5 separate regions of the Homo sapiens genome follow, and regions 2, 3, 4 and 5 are each linked to region 1. Evidence: promoter capture Hi-C in 16 types of primary human blood cells and fetal thymus (Javierre and others, 2016). All regions are on one chromosome and are shown on one strand. Each heading gives the region's core, a stretch centred on a gene start or on the middle of the fragment in contact. The rest is flanking DNA. Distances are from core to core; before and after follow the strand shown.

What was found. Contacts are between HindIII fragments. The CHiCAGO score rates a contact against its expected background, and 5 or more counts as called.
Region 2: a contact is called between a fragment that was not itself captured here and the fragment with the promoter of SLK in region 1, in 7 of 17 cell types (megakaryocytes, activated CD4 T cells, erythroblasts and 4 more). The highest score is 9.5, in megakaryocytes.
Region 3: a contact is called between a fragment that was not itself captured here and the fragment with the promoter of SLK in region 1, in 2 of 17 cell types (total B cells and total CD8 T cells). The highest score is 5.1, in total B cells.
Region 4: a fragment that was not itself captured here is called in contact with the fragment with the promoter of SLK in region 1 in 11 of 17 cell types (naive B cells, naive CD8 T cells, total CD8 T cells and 8 more); the score reaches 8.3 in naive B cells.
Region 5: a contact is called between a fragment that was not itself captured here and the fragment with the promoter of SLK in region 1, in 6 of 17 cell types (naive CD8 T cells, non-activated CD4 T cells, M0 macrophages and 3 more). The highest score is 7.0, in naive CD8 T cells.

The regions. Positions count from the first base shown.
Region 1 is chr10:103,965,748-103,968,462 of GRCh38, reverse strand. SLK (STE20 like kinase) reads right to left here and starts at 1,323. Exons shown (of 19, transcript NM_014720.4): 1 at 568-1,323. The coding sequence starts at 717. It overlaps LOC102724351 (a long non-coding RNA gene), which reads left to right and starts at 1,418. Exons shown (of 5, transcript XR_007062282.1): 1 at 1,418-2,682. RefSeq lists silencers at 802-901, 912-961, 1,002-1,461. The HindIII fragment of the contact is 5,644 bases long and covers 1-2,715 here.
Region 2 is chr10:104,256,357-104,259,071 of GRCh38, reverse strand. All of the region lies in intron 2 of GSTO1 (glutathione S-transferase omega 1), which reads right to left. All of the region lies in intron 1 of LOC124902497 (a long non-coding RNA gene), which reads left to right. Among named protein-coding and RNA genes, the nearest start is that of GSTO1, 2.8 kb to the right of the region's middle. The HindIII fragment of the contact is 691 bases long and covers 1,058-1,748 here.
Region 3 is chr10:103,680,022-103,682,736 of GRCh38, reverse strand. All of the region lies in intron 6 of SH3PXD2A (SH3 and PX domains 2A), which reads left to right. Among named protein-coding and RNA genes, the nearest start is that of SH3PXD2A-AS1, 65 kb to the left of the region's middle. RefSeq lists an enhancer at 1-756. The HindIII fragment of the contact is 5,817 bases long and covers 1-2,715 here.
Region 4 is chr10:104,226,778-104,229,492 of GRCh38, reverse strand. The region is part of intron 2 of CFAP43 (cilia and flagella associated protein 43); the gene reads left to right. Among named protein-coding and RNA genes, the nearest start is that of CFAP43, 4.2 kb to the left of the region's middle. The HindIII fragment of the contact is 3,831 bases long and covers 1-2,715 here.
Region 5 is chr10:103,697,835-103,700,549 of GRCh38, reverse strand. All of the region lies in intron 5 of SH3PXD2A (SH3 and PX domains 2A), which reads left to right. Among named protein-coding and RNA genes, the nearest start is that of SH3PXD2A-AS1, 48 kb to the left of the region's middle. The HindIII fragment of the contact is 6,444 bases long and covers 1-2,715 here.

The sequences.
Region 1 (2,715 bases), core at 74-2,573:
TACCACATGAAGGTTTTTTGGAAATTTTGTCAGAAATTCCATTCTATTTTATAGTATGCTGTCAAGCAACTAACTCAAGAAGAGACTGCAAGTAGCAATCACTTTGATCCCAACTAGTTCTGTATTAGCTCTAGATACAACCAAATATATATACTGGACCCTAAAAACAGAACTGTTGGAGTACAAGCATGCACGCGAATGCAGTCAGTAGACAAATCCACTGCAAAGTGCAATGAGTTTCTCATTCTAAAATACTTGAAGGGCACAACCAGACCCCTCCTATAAATTAAAGAACACTCTCATTTCCTTTGAAGTTTGAAAGAGTAGACTTTATAACCCTGTCTCCTTTTCCAATCGCTCTTTAAACTCCATCCAGGCCCCATTTTGTTCCACCGTAAACCCGACTTCTTAGCTACTCCTTGGATGATCAGCCAAGTAAAGTTGCATCGAACCGTAACAGTCAAAAGAAGGACAGGATAAGGACCAGGGGAGCAGAAGTCCTCCCGCCACTCCAGGCCAGTGGCTGTTTTACCTTCGCAGTACAACTTCCCGTTTTCCCCCTCTTACCTTGTACACTTTCCCAAAGGCTCCGTCGCCCAGTTCTCCTATAATCTCCCAAAAGTCTTCGGGGTTCAGGTCCCTCTTCACGTGTTCGTACTGCTTCTTCTTCTTCTCGCTCCCCAACTTGAAGATCTTACGGAAATTGAAGAAGGACATTTTTCCTCCCAACACAGAGTTCCTTGCACTTAAGGACTAAAAACAATAAAAGGCAAAGTTTCTCTTCCCTGCTCTCCCGCGCGAGCCCGGCTGGCGGCGGCGGGCGCGGCGTCCCTCGGCCCCCGCAGCTCCGGCCGGGCGGTCCCGGGAGAAGGCGGGGCGGCGACCCGGGCTCCGGCCCGCGGTGGGGGTGCTGCGCGAGCGGCCCCTCCGCCGAGCCCGGCCCGCGAGCCGCGCGGTGGGCGCCTCGCCTCCGGCCCACCCTCCGGGAGCGGCACCTGCCCGCAAGCTCGCTCCCACCCGGCCTGATCCGACGGGTCCGAGCGGTCAGGACTCCCGCGGCGGCGGCTTAGGCCCGTGTCACGGCGAGTCTCCAGGGGCGGCGGCCACTCTGGGAGAGAGAAGCGGCCGGCGGCCTCGGAGGCGGGCAGTCGAGAAGCCGAGCCCTCCCGCCTCGGGCCGCGAGCCTAGGGTCTCCTCCGCCGCCGTCCGCTCCCGCGGCGCAAGGCCCGCGCGTCCCCTCGGGTCTGGGGCGCCGCCGCCGCCGCCTGTCTCCCTCCCCAGCCCACACAGCCTCGGCCTGGAGCGCGCGCCGACGCCGACTCCGTAGCGCGCCCGCGCGCTTTCCCGGCTGCGCGCCCGCCCGGTCACGCGCCCTGCTCACCGCGCGCTCGCGTGGGGGCGTCCCCTCTGGCCCCGCGCACGCGCGCTACGTCCCTCAGACTGGCTGCCCCCGAGGGTTCGCGTGAGCGGAGCACGGGGCTCGGGGTGCGGGGGGCTGGTGTGATGGACGCATTTGTTCTTCGGTCCCTGACGATTGTTTCTCATTTGCCCTCCAAGCCCCAAATCCTGTCAGTCCACGGCCTTGATGGAGCGGCCCCCGTGGGACGACCCTGTTGATTGTGCTAGCGGATGTTGTCTCCATTCTGGATCTGGGAAAAACTGTGGAGTGAAAGCCGGACCTGTTAGGGTTGGGACCTGAAAGCGGACTTTTTCGCTCTCAGACGGGCCCCAGGTACAGTGAGAGGGGAGTTTGTGTGGTGGTTGTGAGCTTGAGCTTTGGAGAGAGAGATCTGTGACCTTGGGCAGGTGACCTCTCCGAGCCTCGGTTTCCTCGCCGTAAAATGAAGATCCTAATAGTCCCTACCAGAAGGTTGTGAATGAGACAATAGATGGAAGCCCTTTGCGCGGCCCCTGCACCCGTAAACGCTCAATCTTAGTTCTTACTCTTGTTGTTTTAAGTGTGCAGGCAAGATAGACACAGATACATAAAAACTGTTTAAGACCACTTCTCTTTTTTTTCTTTCTTTCTTTTTTTTTTTTTTTTTTTTTTTTTGAGACGGAGTCTCGATCTGTCGCCCAGGCTGGAGTGCAGTGGCGCGAACTAGGCTCACCGCAAGCTCCGCCTCCCGGCTTCACGCTATTCTCCTGCCTCAGCCTCCCGAGTAGCTGGGACTACAGGCGCCCGCCACCACGCCCCGCTAATTTTTTTGTATTTTTAGTAGAGACGGGGTTTCACCGTGTTAGCCAGGATGGTCTCGATCTCCTGACCTCGTGATCCGCCCGCCTCGGCCTCCCAAAGTACTGGCGTGAGCCACCGCGCCGGGCCCCCACTTCTCAACTGATGACTGCGACACTCCCTTGAGGGTAAAACTAACTTCTGGCCACCTCCACAACTGTAAACCTGGTGTCACTCTTGGTGACTCCACCTCAGCTAAGGCCCCCACTTCCTGATCTGCCTCCAGCCCCCTTGGGCAGCACTCCCTGGTGGGGCAGTGTGGACGTTGGCTGGAATCCGTCAGGTGGTGACCTACCTTCCCCTCCTCCACCAGACGGGAGCTCTTTCAGGCCAGTGGTTTGTTGTTCATCAAGATATCCAAGTACCCGGCAACATTCCTGGCATATAATAGGAAGGCAGATCTGGTGAATGAATGAATGAATGGCGGTATCTGGAGCAGAGACAATGTATGTATATATTGCTATTTATATAATGTCTGC
Region 2 (2,715 bases), core at 154-2,653, 290 kb before region 1:
GCAGCTGTACCATTTTACATTCCCGCCAACAGTGTGCAAAGGTTCTGATTTCTACACATCCTTGCTAACACTTGTCTTTTTTCATTATAGTCATCTTGACAAGTGTGAGGTTATTATGTGATTTTGATTTGCATTTTCCTGATGATTAGTGATAAGAACTTTTTCATATATGTGTTGCCCATTTTTATATCCTCTTTGAAGAAATGTCTATTTTTTTAATTTTTAATTTTTTTTGACACTCTGTCTCCCAGACTGGAGTACAGTGGCTTGATCGCAGCTCACTGCAGCCTCGACCTCCTGGGCTAAAGCGATCCTCCTACCTCCCGAGTAGTTGGGACCACAGGCGTGCACCATCACACCCAGCTAATTTCTTTGTAGAGACAGGATTCTGCCATGTTGCCAAGGCTGGTCTTGAACTCCTGGGCTCAAGTGAACTGTCTGCCTCGGGGTTATAGGCGTGAGCTACCATGCCCAGCCTGAGAAGTGTCTATGTAAGATCTTAGCCCATGTTAAAATCAGGTTTTTTTGTTGTTGAGTTGTAGAGATTCCTTATGTATTTTGGAGATTAACCCCTTACCAGGTATGTGGTTTGCAAGTACTTTCTCCTATTCCATAGGTTGCCTTTTTGCTCTGTTAATCGTTTCCTTTGCTGTGTGGAAGCTTGTTTGCTGTAGTCTCATGTGTTTATTTTTGGTCTTGTTGCCTGGTCTTTGGTGTCATGTCCAGGAAATCATTGCCAAGGCCAGTGTCATGAAGCTTTTCCCCTATGTTTTCTTTTACACGTTGGCGGTTTTTATATTCCTTGAATTTGCCAAATGTGTTTCCACCTTAGAGTCTTTGCACTTGATGGTCCTCTGCCTCCTCTGCCTGCCTTTTCCCAGGTCTTCCCAGGTCAAACACACATCCCCAGGCCCTCCCTGACCATAGCTCTGAAGTTGCTGAGCAGCTTCTATTACATGATTATCATGTTTTACTTTCTTCATTGAACTGATAATATGTATCTGAAATTACTTTGCTCACTTATTTACAAGTTTGTTATCTTCCTAGAATGTAAGCTTCACGAAAGGTGGGATCTTGTGTATCTGTTCATAGTAATAAACAAACATGTAAATGAGCAAAATGCTATATAGATATAAATGCTCTGAAGAAAATAAAAAGTTTCAAATAAGGACTCAGTAAATATTTTTGTTTTGAAATATTTCATATAAATGAATGAATAAATCTGTGGAAATGCTTCAAAATTGTCAATAAGATACTCCATTTATGGCTAAGAGGTATCTTAGTTATAAATCATATGAGGCAACTAATTGAATTGTGTCCACTATCCACTATATGAGAACCAACATAAAATTCAATTTATTTTGCTAATTTGAGTAAAAAGTTTCTTGGTTTTTATGAAGATATTAAGGAATCCTTAAAATCCACCCACAAGGCCAGGCTTGGTAGCTTACATCTGTAATCCCAGAACCTTGGGAGACTGCAGTGGGCGGATTGCTTAAACCCAGGAGTTCAAGACCAGCCTGGGCAACATGATGAAACCCTATCTCTACAAAAAATATAAAAATTAGCCAAGTGTGGTGGTACTCACCTGTAGTCTCGGCTACTCCGGATGCTGAGGTGAGAAGATTGCTTGAGCCCTGGAGGCAGAGGTTGCAGTGAGCCATGATTGCACCACTGCATTCCAGCCTGGGTGACAGGGCGAGACCCTGTCTCGAAAAAAAAAAAAAAATCCACCCACAAAATAAGCTTTCAGATTAAATCTCCATGTACTGATTTTTTAAAAAATGTTGTCTGAGTAAATCATACAAAGTAAACCAAAAAGGAAGAAAACAGGTGAAGTCCAGGCTATAGTCAGATTGTATTTAGGTCTATCTTGTATGTTGCCTGAGACTGTAGAGGAACTAAGAGAAAGGAGCTAGGTCCATATGATTGTCAAGGCTGAATAAATGTTCAATAGAACAGATTACTAAAAAAAAAATAGACACCAATACCTTTTGTTTTCTATTTTCCCATCCACAGCTGTAGCTAGAACAGCATTTCATTTGAGGATTTAAATACATAATCCCCCATGTAAACAAAGGAACATCCAATTTGAACATGAGCACAGGTGTGCATGTAATTTAAAAGGTTCATGTGCTGACAATACTGGACACTTAAGTACCAGCCATTGCAAAAAAAAAAAAAATTATTTGGCTCCTTGCCAAAGAATTATCAACATTTTTGAACTATAAAACAAAAACTTTTGTTACTATGAAAACAAAAAGATCCTGGGCTTTTGTTATTTAAAAAAAAAAAAGTATGTCAGAACACACATGAATTTTGGTAAGCTGGCATTGTGAGCCAACAAGTCTACACACCTGCCACAGCAAGTTGGAAGATGCATCTTTTAGAGAAAACCATGCTTTGTTAAGTCATATCATGTGGTTAAAATCTAGTACTTTCCCAGTAAAAGCCTCCTCGGGCTCAAGCTTAAAACTGGTCTATTAATGTAGTAGACCTTTGTTGTTTGCACTGTCTGGAAGCTGTTAACCACTCTCTTCCTCCCCTCTACCCCACACTATTAGGGGAAGATAGTTTCAATGTTCCTTTGGAAAACTGCCCCAGTAAATAAGGTAGGGTTGTTTTCAAACTAAAGGTCCAGGGTGAAGCACATAACCCAGGACTTTGTGCCTCTGAATCCAGCTGTGTCATGCTCCTGGACTTTTCAAATAAATG
Region 3 (2,715 bases), core at 85-2,584, 290 kb after region 1:
TGCCCAGGCCGGAGTGCAATGGCACGATCTCGGCTCACTGCAACCTCTGCCTCCCAGGTTCAAGCAATTCTCCTGCCTCCGCCTCCTGAATAGCTGGGATTACAGATGCATGCCACCATGCCTGGCTAATTTTTTGTATTTTTAGTAGAGATGGGATTTCACCATGTTGGCCAAGCTGGTCTTGAACTCCTGACCTTGTGATCCACCCTCTTCGGCCTCTCAAAGTGCTGCGATTACAGGCATGAGCCACCGCAGCCAGCCTCTGGGCTGGTGTTTTTAAACAGTTTTTATTTGCATGGCTCTGGGTCCTCAGCCTGATTTTACCCTTGGAGTTCAAAGCCATCTAATTGGAAATGAAAGGAGCCTGATTGATTTGGCAACTCTGCGGCCAGCCCACGTGGCGGTGATGCGATGGAGAAAGTGAGTGCTGCTCACGTGTGTGTCTGCGCCACGCTCCCTGGCTCGAGGTGGCTGAGCCCCACTGCCCAATTGGCCTGGACACACAGAGCAAGGCGGAGCGGGGAGGGGGCAGGGGCGTGGCAAGCGCTCCCCGGATCCTGGAATCCCCAGAAGGAGGCAGCTAGTTGGAAGCCTCAATTCCCTCAGCCCTGCTTGCACAGCTGCCTCTGCCCCCTCACTCCTATCACCCAGTTTCTCCTGCTAGGAAAATAGGAAGTTGGTCCAAAAGGGAACTGCATGGGCAAAAGTGAACTGCAGAATCTTGAGTCTGCTCATTGAAATACAGATTCCCAGGGCCTGCCCAGACCTACTGAATCAGCGTGTCTGGAGTGACGCCCAGGTATCTGCATTTTTTCATTTTCTTAAGAGACAGGGTTTCACCATATTGCCCAGGCTGGTCTCAAACTCCCAAGCTCCTCAAGCAGTCCACCCACCTCGGCCTCCCAAAGTGCTGGATTATAGATATGAGCCACCGCATCTGGCCGATCTGCATTTTGTGTGTGTGCGCGCGCGCGCGCGGGCGCGTGTGTGTGTGTGATGGAGTCTCACTCTGTCACCCAGGCTGGAGTGTGGTAGTGCGATCTTGGCTCACTGCAACCTCTGCCTCTTGGGTTCAAGTGATTCTCCCGCCTCAGCCTCCTGAGTAGCTGGGACTACAGGTACCCTCCACAACACCTGGCTAATTTTTGTATTTTTAGTAGAGACAGGGTTACACCATGTTGGCCAGGCAGATCCTCCTGCCTTGGCCCCCCAGAGTGCTGGGATTATAGGCGTGAGCCACTGCACCCAGCCAATCTGCATTTTTGACAGGCTTCCCAGGGCTTCTGAAATCAAGCTAGGGTTGCGTCTTTGATGGGTCATCCATGTGGGTTGATGGCCATGTTCAGGGTAGACAGGCAGCAAGATGGCAGGGGGATTGGCATCCCCAAGATGAATGGTGCCTGGATGATGCCTGGATGGGACTGCTCCTTGAAGAACATTCAGTTGTCTCCTGAGATGGGAGGGTGGGCTACGGGGGCAGGAATGGAGGACAGGACTCCCAAGTCTCTTACCCCTGAAACACAGCCCAGCATTTGGAGTCTTGGAGAATGGCTATCTGAGGGGCCTACCCAGCCCTGACCTGATGAGAGACACCATCTGCCTTTCATTTCCAGAAGGTTTTGTTGCTGGGGGAGGAAATACCCAAATTGTGGTCCAGCAAAGAAATGTTTCCCACCGTGGCCCACGGCCAGAAAGTCACTGGTTCCTCACTTCAGCGTTTGGTTTATAGACACGTGACAGAAGAGGCAACCTTTCCAGTGATGACAAAGCCGGCGGAAAAACAAAGACATGGGGGAAATGTGCATTACTTATTGTTTTAGCACCTTTTTCTAATCTAAAGTTACTTTTAGAAACAGAAAAGTGGTGTGTGTAACTTAGTCGGCACGTGGCATTTTTAGAATTGGTCTGTTTCGAAGTGTGAAAGAAAAAAATATTTTTTTCCTGAGTTTCCATAAAACTTAGAAGTTTACAGGAAAATCATGCTTTTCCCTGACTCTCTTCTTTCTGCCTTGCCCCCTGGATTTCATCATTGCCATGTGTGGCCCAAGCAGCCAGCTTGAAAATGTATTTTGTTATTTATTGTTAGAATAAAGTCTTGCACCAAGACAACTGGGTCATGTTAGAAAGTCCCTTTGCTTCCTTGTGCTCAGAAACAGAGTTTGCTGGGTGTGGTGGTTCACGCCTGTAATCCCAGCACTTTGGGAACCTGAGGTGGGAGGATCACTTGAGCCCAGGAGCTTGAGACCAGCCTGGGCAACCTAGTGAGACCCCTTCTCTACAAAAATAAAAAATTAGTCCAGTGTGGTGGCACACACCTGTGGTTTCAGCTACTCGGGAGGGCAAAGAAGGATTGTTGAGCCCAGGAGGTTAAAGCTGCAGTGAATGGTGATCGCACCACTGCACTCCAGCCTGGGCAATAGAGCAAGACCCTATCTCAAAATAAAACATAAAGAAGGCAGGCCGGGTGTGGTAGCTCACGCCTGTAATCCCAGCACTTTGGGAGGCCGAGTTGGGCGGATTACTTGAGGTCAGGAGTTTGAGACCAGCCTGGCCAACATGGTGAAACCCTGTCTCTACAAAAATACAAAAATTAGCTTGGTGTCGTGGTGGGCGCCTGTAATCCCAGTTACTCAGGAGGCTGAGGCAGGAGAATCACTTGAACCGGGGAGGCAGAGGTTGCAGTGAGCAGAGATGGCGCCATTGCACTCCAGCCTG
Region 4 (2,715 bases), core at 109-2,608, 260 kb before region 1:
TGGCAGAGGATGGGGTTTTACCATGTTGGCCAGGCTGGTCTCGAACTCCTGGCCTCAAGTGATCCACCCACCTCCGCCTCCCAAAGTGCTGGGATTACAGGCGTGAGCCACTGTGCCCGGCCTAATGACTCTTTCTTAGATACAGCTGACCCACACTGAGCTGCTGCACGTCTGCTGGAGCCACCAGCTAATGATTCCTTCATTTAACACCCCATGGGCAGAAAGCTCATGCTTGAGGCTGGACTTAGCTCTGTAGTCTTAAGGGTCAAATAAGTGTTTGGATGAAGTCAGGGAACTTCACTATAATTTATAATACTTTGTTTGTGGTGAAATTTGCATTCTCAACAGTTTAAGACAATTTTCAAAACATAACCCATTCACATGTTGGGGACTATCTAGGTGGACTATACCCTTTATCTTTAAAATTTCCCCAGGTTGGTTATTTGGCTGTAGTTCTGTTTGAACCAATTGAAAGTTAGTTCAAACCAATACCCAGGAGTCTTACTGAATAATGATGCCCTAAAGGAATTCCCAGTAATACTAATCAGTAATATTAATCAGAGAGACCTGTTATCACTATTATTTAATATCAACCTGGAAGTTCTAGCCAATGCAACAAAATATAAAACTGAAAAAAATATAGCTATGGGAAAGGGGATGATGGATAATGCGATAGTCTGCTAGGACTAACAAAAGAATGCTCAGTAAGATGCTGGTTTTGAAATAAGTACCCATACAATTAGAACATATACATACTTAGAAATAATTCAAAAAAAAGTGTGAGTGACCTAGGGGAAGAAAACTACAAAAATCATTGATTTAAAATATTTAAATATATAGAAATATATTCCTGGATGGAAAGCCTGGTTATTATAAATATATTTCTGAGATTTGTCATAGAAAGTAATTTGTAGGTTTATCCTATGTTTTAGACAGCAAGGAGTACTCAAATGATTCCAAAATTCATCTGGGAAAATAAAACATAGAGAATGAGAATAATTTGAAAGAGAATGATGGCAAGGCAGAGGGTCATTTTAATATTATGGTGCCATAGTAATTAGAAGTATGGCACTGGTGCAGGGATCACCAAATCAGTGGGAGAGTTGAAGACTTGGGACAGAATCTAAAGTATATAAAAGCTGAGTAAATGAAGAAAGAGGCTACCACCAAAAAGAAGGAGGAAGAGAAGGAGGAGGAGGAAGAAAGAAGAAAAAATATAGATTATTCAACAGTGGTTAAGAAAACTGCATATTTTAACAAAAGTATCAAGTTAGATACTCATGGTCTATATCAGATGAAAAAAAGCATTAAATATAAATAACAAATCCACTTGAAAATAGTAGAAAATATGGGCCGGGCACAGTGGCTCACGCCTGTAATCCCAGCACTTTGGGAGGCCAAGGCAGGTGGATCACGAGGTCAGGAGATCAAGACCATCCTGGCCAACATGGGGAAACCCCATCTTTACTAAAAATACAAAAGTTAGTTGGGCATGGTGGCGCATGCCTGTAATCCCAGCTACTCAGGAGGCTGATGCAGAATCGCTTGAACCCGGGAGGCGGAGGTTGCAGCGAGCCGAGATCACGCCACTGCACTCCAGCCTGGCAACATAGCAAGACTCTGTCTCAAAAAAAAAAAAAAAAAAAAAAAAAAAAAAGTAGAAAACATGGTAGAATAGAGGAGTGATTCCAGGAAGGGGAAGAACTTTTCACACAAAACAAAAACTTAGAAAAGACAGACATATTTGATTGTATATCTGTTTTAAACTGATTAACATCAAAAACACCATGAAAAATTAAAAGGGAAATAATAAACCAGGTAAAATATTTGGAACAAATATGATCAAATATTTTCAGAGCATTAATGAAACAAGAACAAAACAAACAGCCTCTTAGAACAATGGAAAAGAAATTAACCCAGACAAATCACTAAACTCCAAATAACCAAAGACATCAAAAAATGTTTCATCTCAAGATTTGTTTTAAAAAGTGTGATTTAAACCAAGATGCTATTTTTCTGCCTATCAAGGTCACAACTTTTTTATGATCATAATTGCTAGGTAGAATGCAGTGAAATTGGTAGCACTCTTATTTGCTGAAGGTGGGACTATAAATTGATAGAGTCTTTCTGTGAAATAAATATTGACTCTATTTGACCCAGTATACTCACTTCAAGACGAATTCAATTTTTAGGAAATGGTTAGAAATATGGTCAAAGATTTACATGCAAATGAGCTTAAAAAGCACTATGATAATAGCACAAGGTTGGAGCAACCTACATCTCCAGTATTATGGATATAGTTAAATAAAATATACTATAAAGGGGTATTATGCAAACATTAAAAATCACACTTTTAAAGAAGTGTTAAGATAATGATAAAATGGTCAATATAACGTAAATAAAAAACCAATAGGAGGCAACACTATGATCCAATTCCATTTAAAAATGGATTATCATATATTATATATATATGATGAGACAGAGTCTTGCTCTGTCCCCCAGGCTGGAGTGCAGTGGCGCAGTCTTGGCTCACTGCAACTTCCGCCTCCCAGGTTCAAGCGATTCGCCTGCCTCAGCCTCCCAAGTAGCTGGGATTACAGGTGCTTGCCACCACACCCGGCTAATTTTTGATTTTTAGTAGAGACGAGGTTTTACCATGTTGGCCAGGCTGCTCTCAAACTTCTGACCTCAGTGATCCACCTGCCTTCCCCTCCC
Region 5 (2,715 bases), core at 147-2,646, 270 kb after region 1:
ACCTGATGGGAACCCAGGCCTGTCTGTCATCATGGTCCTGCATCAGTGCCCTGAGTGACAGAGCCAGGGTCTCACACAGGCCACACTGAGAAGGTAGGCAGTCAGCACCTCCTGCATTGCGGCCACCATCCACACTCCTAGTCTAGCCCCCTGTGAACCCAGGCTATTGGGCTACGGGTCCTTTCCATGGGCCAGATGCCATTTAAGAGCTTTGCACATTATCCCATGTAATCCCCACGACAGCTCTGTAAGATAGCAACTATTTTAACCCCCTTTTACAACCGAAGGTACAGAGAGGTGAAGTCACTTGTTTATATCACAAAGCACTAGGTGGCTGAACCAGGGTTCTAACCCACCTGCCCTTTTAACTCCCTGCTCTGAGGCCTGGACATGGTAAAACTTGTCCTGTGGCTGAAGACACACTTAGGGCCTTTGCCCAGAATAGTGGAACAAGTCAGAGGAGACAGACAGACAGTGCTTTGTTCTTTTGCTGTGGACAGGGCAGCAGCAGAGACCCTCTGGGATGTTCAGGAGACAAAATGCCTGGGGGGCGGGGTTCTGGGGTCTATGATGGCCATAGCATCTGGCCTCTCTGGGATGCAGCCTGGGGAGCCCCAAGACCCCTTCTCTCCGCAGGAATTCAGCTTTTTCACCCAGGGCAGGAATTCCGGCCCCTCTGGACAAGCCACATGGTCACAATGGGGTCCATTCTCAGAACCCTGGAAAACACAGGCCCTGCGGAGAAAGGACAGATTCTTGTTAAACACAAGGGCCCTCAGTGCCACGATTTAGATCAGGGAGCAAATGGGGGCAGAGAATGGCCTGCAGGCCCCTCTGTCTGTCTTGCCTGGAGGTTGCTGCCTCTGGAGGCCATTCCGTGCAAAGGCTCTCAAAAGCCAGAACAAAAACCCAGCTAGGGGCTAAGGGGTGGAAAAAAAACCCCAACTCTCCAGACCTCAGTGACCCAAAGCCCCTTCGCCCAGCCCTTTGCTCAGACCTTCCTCACTTGGTTTCTGGAAGAACATGCTCCATCTCACTATGGAGGTTTCACAGATAATTCGAATTCTCACAATAGCCCTGTGAGGACACTCAGAGTAGCCTCCTGTTAGGACTGGGGAATCCGAGGGCTCCTGCCACAGTGGGAAATATCACACTGCAGCTCGATACGCAGACAGACATCTGATGCAGGTGCCACAAAACAGCCTTGCCAGGGGTGACTCGCTGATCATTTCTAGTCTGTTCTTCTTAAAATGCTCATTGGGACCATTAAATTGATTCTGAAACTCACTAATGGGTCACTGCCTGTCATTTGAAAAGCACTAGTTTGAAGTGGCTTGTCCAGGGTCACCAGCCCCTGAGGGGGCAGAGCTGGGCCCAGAACCCGGGTCTGTGGACATTCAGCACTGGACTTTGACAGCCCCTCTCCTGCCCCCAACCCCCAGCTGTCAACCTCTCCTCTTAACAAAATTTTCCTCCAGCCAGGATCTGACCAAATCACTCCCCAATTCTGCAAACTTCTGGATTTCACAGCCAGACATCAAAGCCCTGCTCAGCCTTGCCTTTCCTGGCCCGTCCACCCACTACCCTCACTGCCCAGTCCACAACTGTTTGGAGCTGCTTGCTCCTGCTTGTAGAGCTTTCCCCCTGCATCCCTCTATGGATCCAAACCCCCTTGTCCTTTAAGGCCTCCTCCTCCAGGAAGCTACCTGGGATGTTCTGTAGCCCCCAGGACCTCTCTTTTCTCTGCACTGAGTGTAACCCCTCCTGTAATTCTCAGCGTGGATTGTCTGAGAATGTTGGCTTTCTCGTTGGACTTATGTCACATATATCTCTTCTGCCTGCCTGCACAGGCCTTAATGAGGTTGCCTACAGCGAGAGCTTAAAAAGTGCTTTTAGGTTGATAACAGCAGTCAAAATCATTATGTACCTCAAGAGCCCCACGTCACTCCCCTGGCCAAGGTTGCATCTTCTCCAGCCCTCATATTCTAGATAGTGCCCATGTCCCCAGTGACTGCTGGGCTCTGAAGGTCACCCCCAAGTCAGCTGTCTGGCAGCCCAGCCGGCCTCTTGAGCAGTTCCCAGTGGCTGTAGGCCCCGCAGACAGGCATCCTGGGCCCAGCAGCCAATGTCAGCTGGCAGACAGAAGGGTGAGAACATCAGGCTGGAAGTTTGTGTGTGTGTCCTTCTCTGCCAAGGCACTTGCCAGTGGGAGGGAGAGTGGTGAGGGGTGTGGCGGGCAGTGGAGGGTACAACCCTGCAGCATTCAGCAGAACTCCACCTGGCAGGTACTCAGCACCCTTCCACAGAGCCGGCCCAGCCAGGCCCAGCCCCCTTTCCTCTCTCTCCCGTGCCTCAGTGGCTCTTCCTGGCTTCACCTCTCACTCTGGGAACTCTGAACGGCAGGATGGCAATCTCCATTCCCCAGCGAGGGCCTGCTGCCCGCTGCTGGTGTGACCTCTCCTTGTGGCCAAATCCCTAGTGGGCCTCAGCGTGGCCCCTTTGGAGCATTGTGGGTCAGGGCTGTCTGTTTAGCTTCAGGAGCCTGGGCCAGCCACTGAAGCCTCAGACCTCAATCTCCTCATCCATGAAATGGGTGAGCACCTGCTCTGCCTACTTCAGAACACCAAAGAATAAATCCTGGGAGTTTTCAAGGGGAAGGCAGAGTGTGGGGAGCCATGTGTCAAAACAGGGGAACAACACATGTGAATTGTTCAG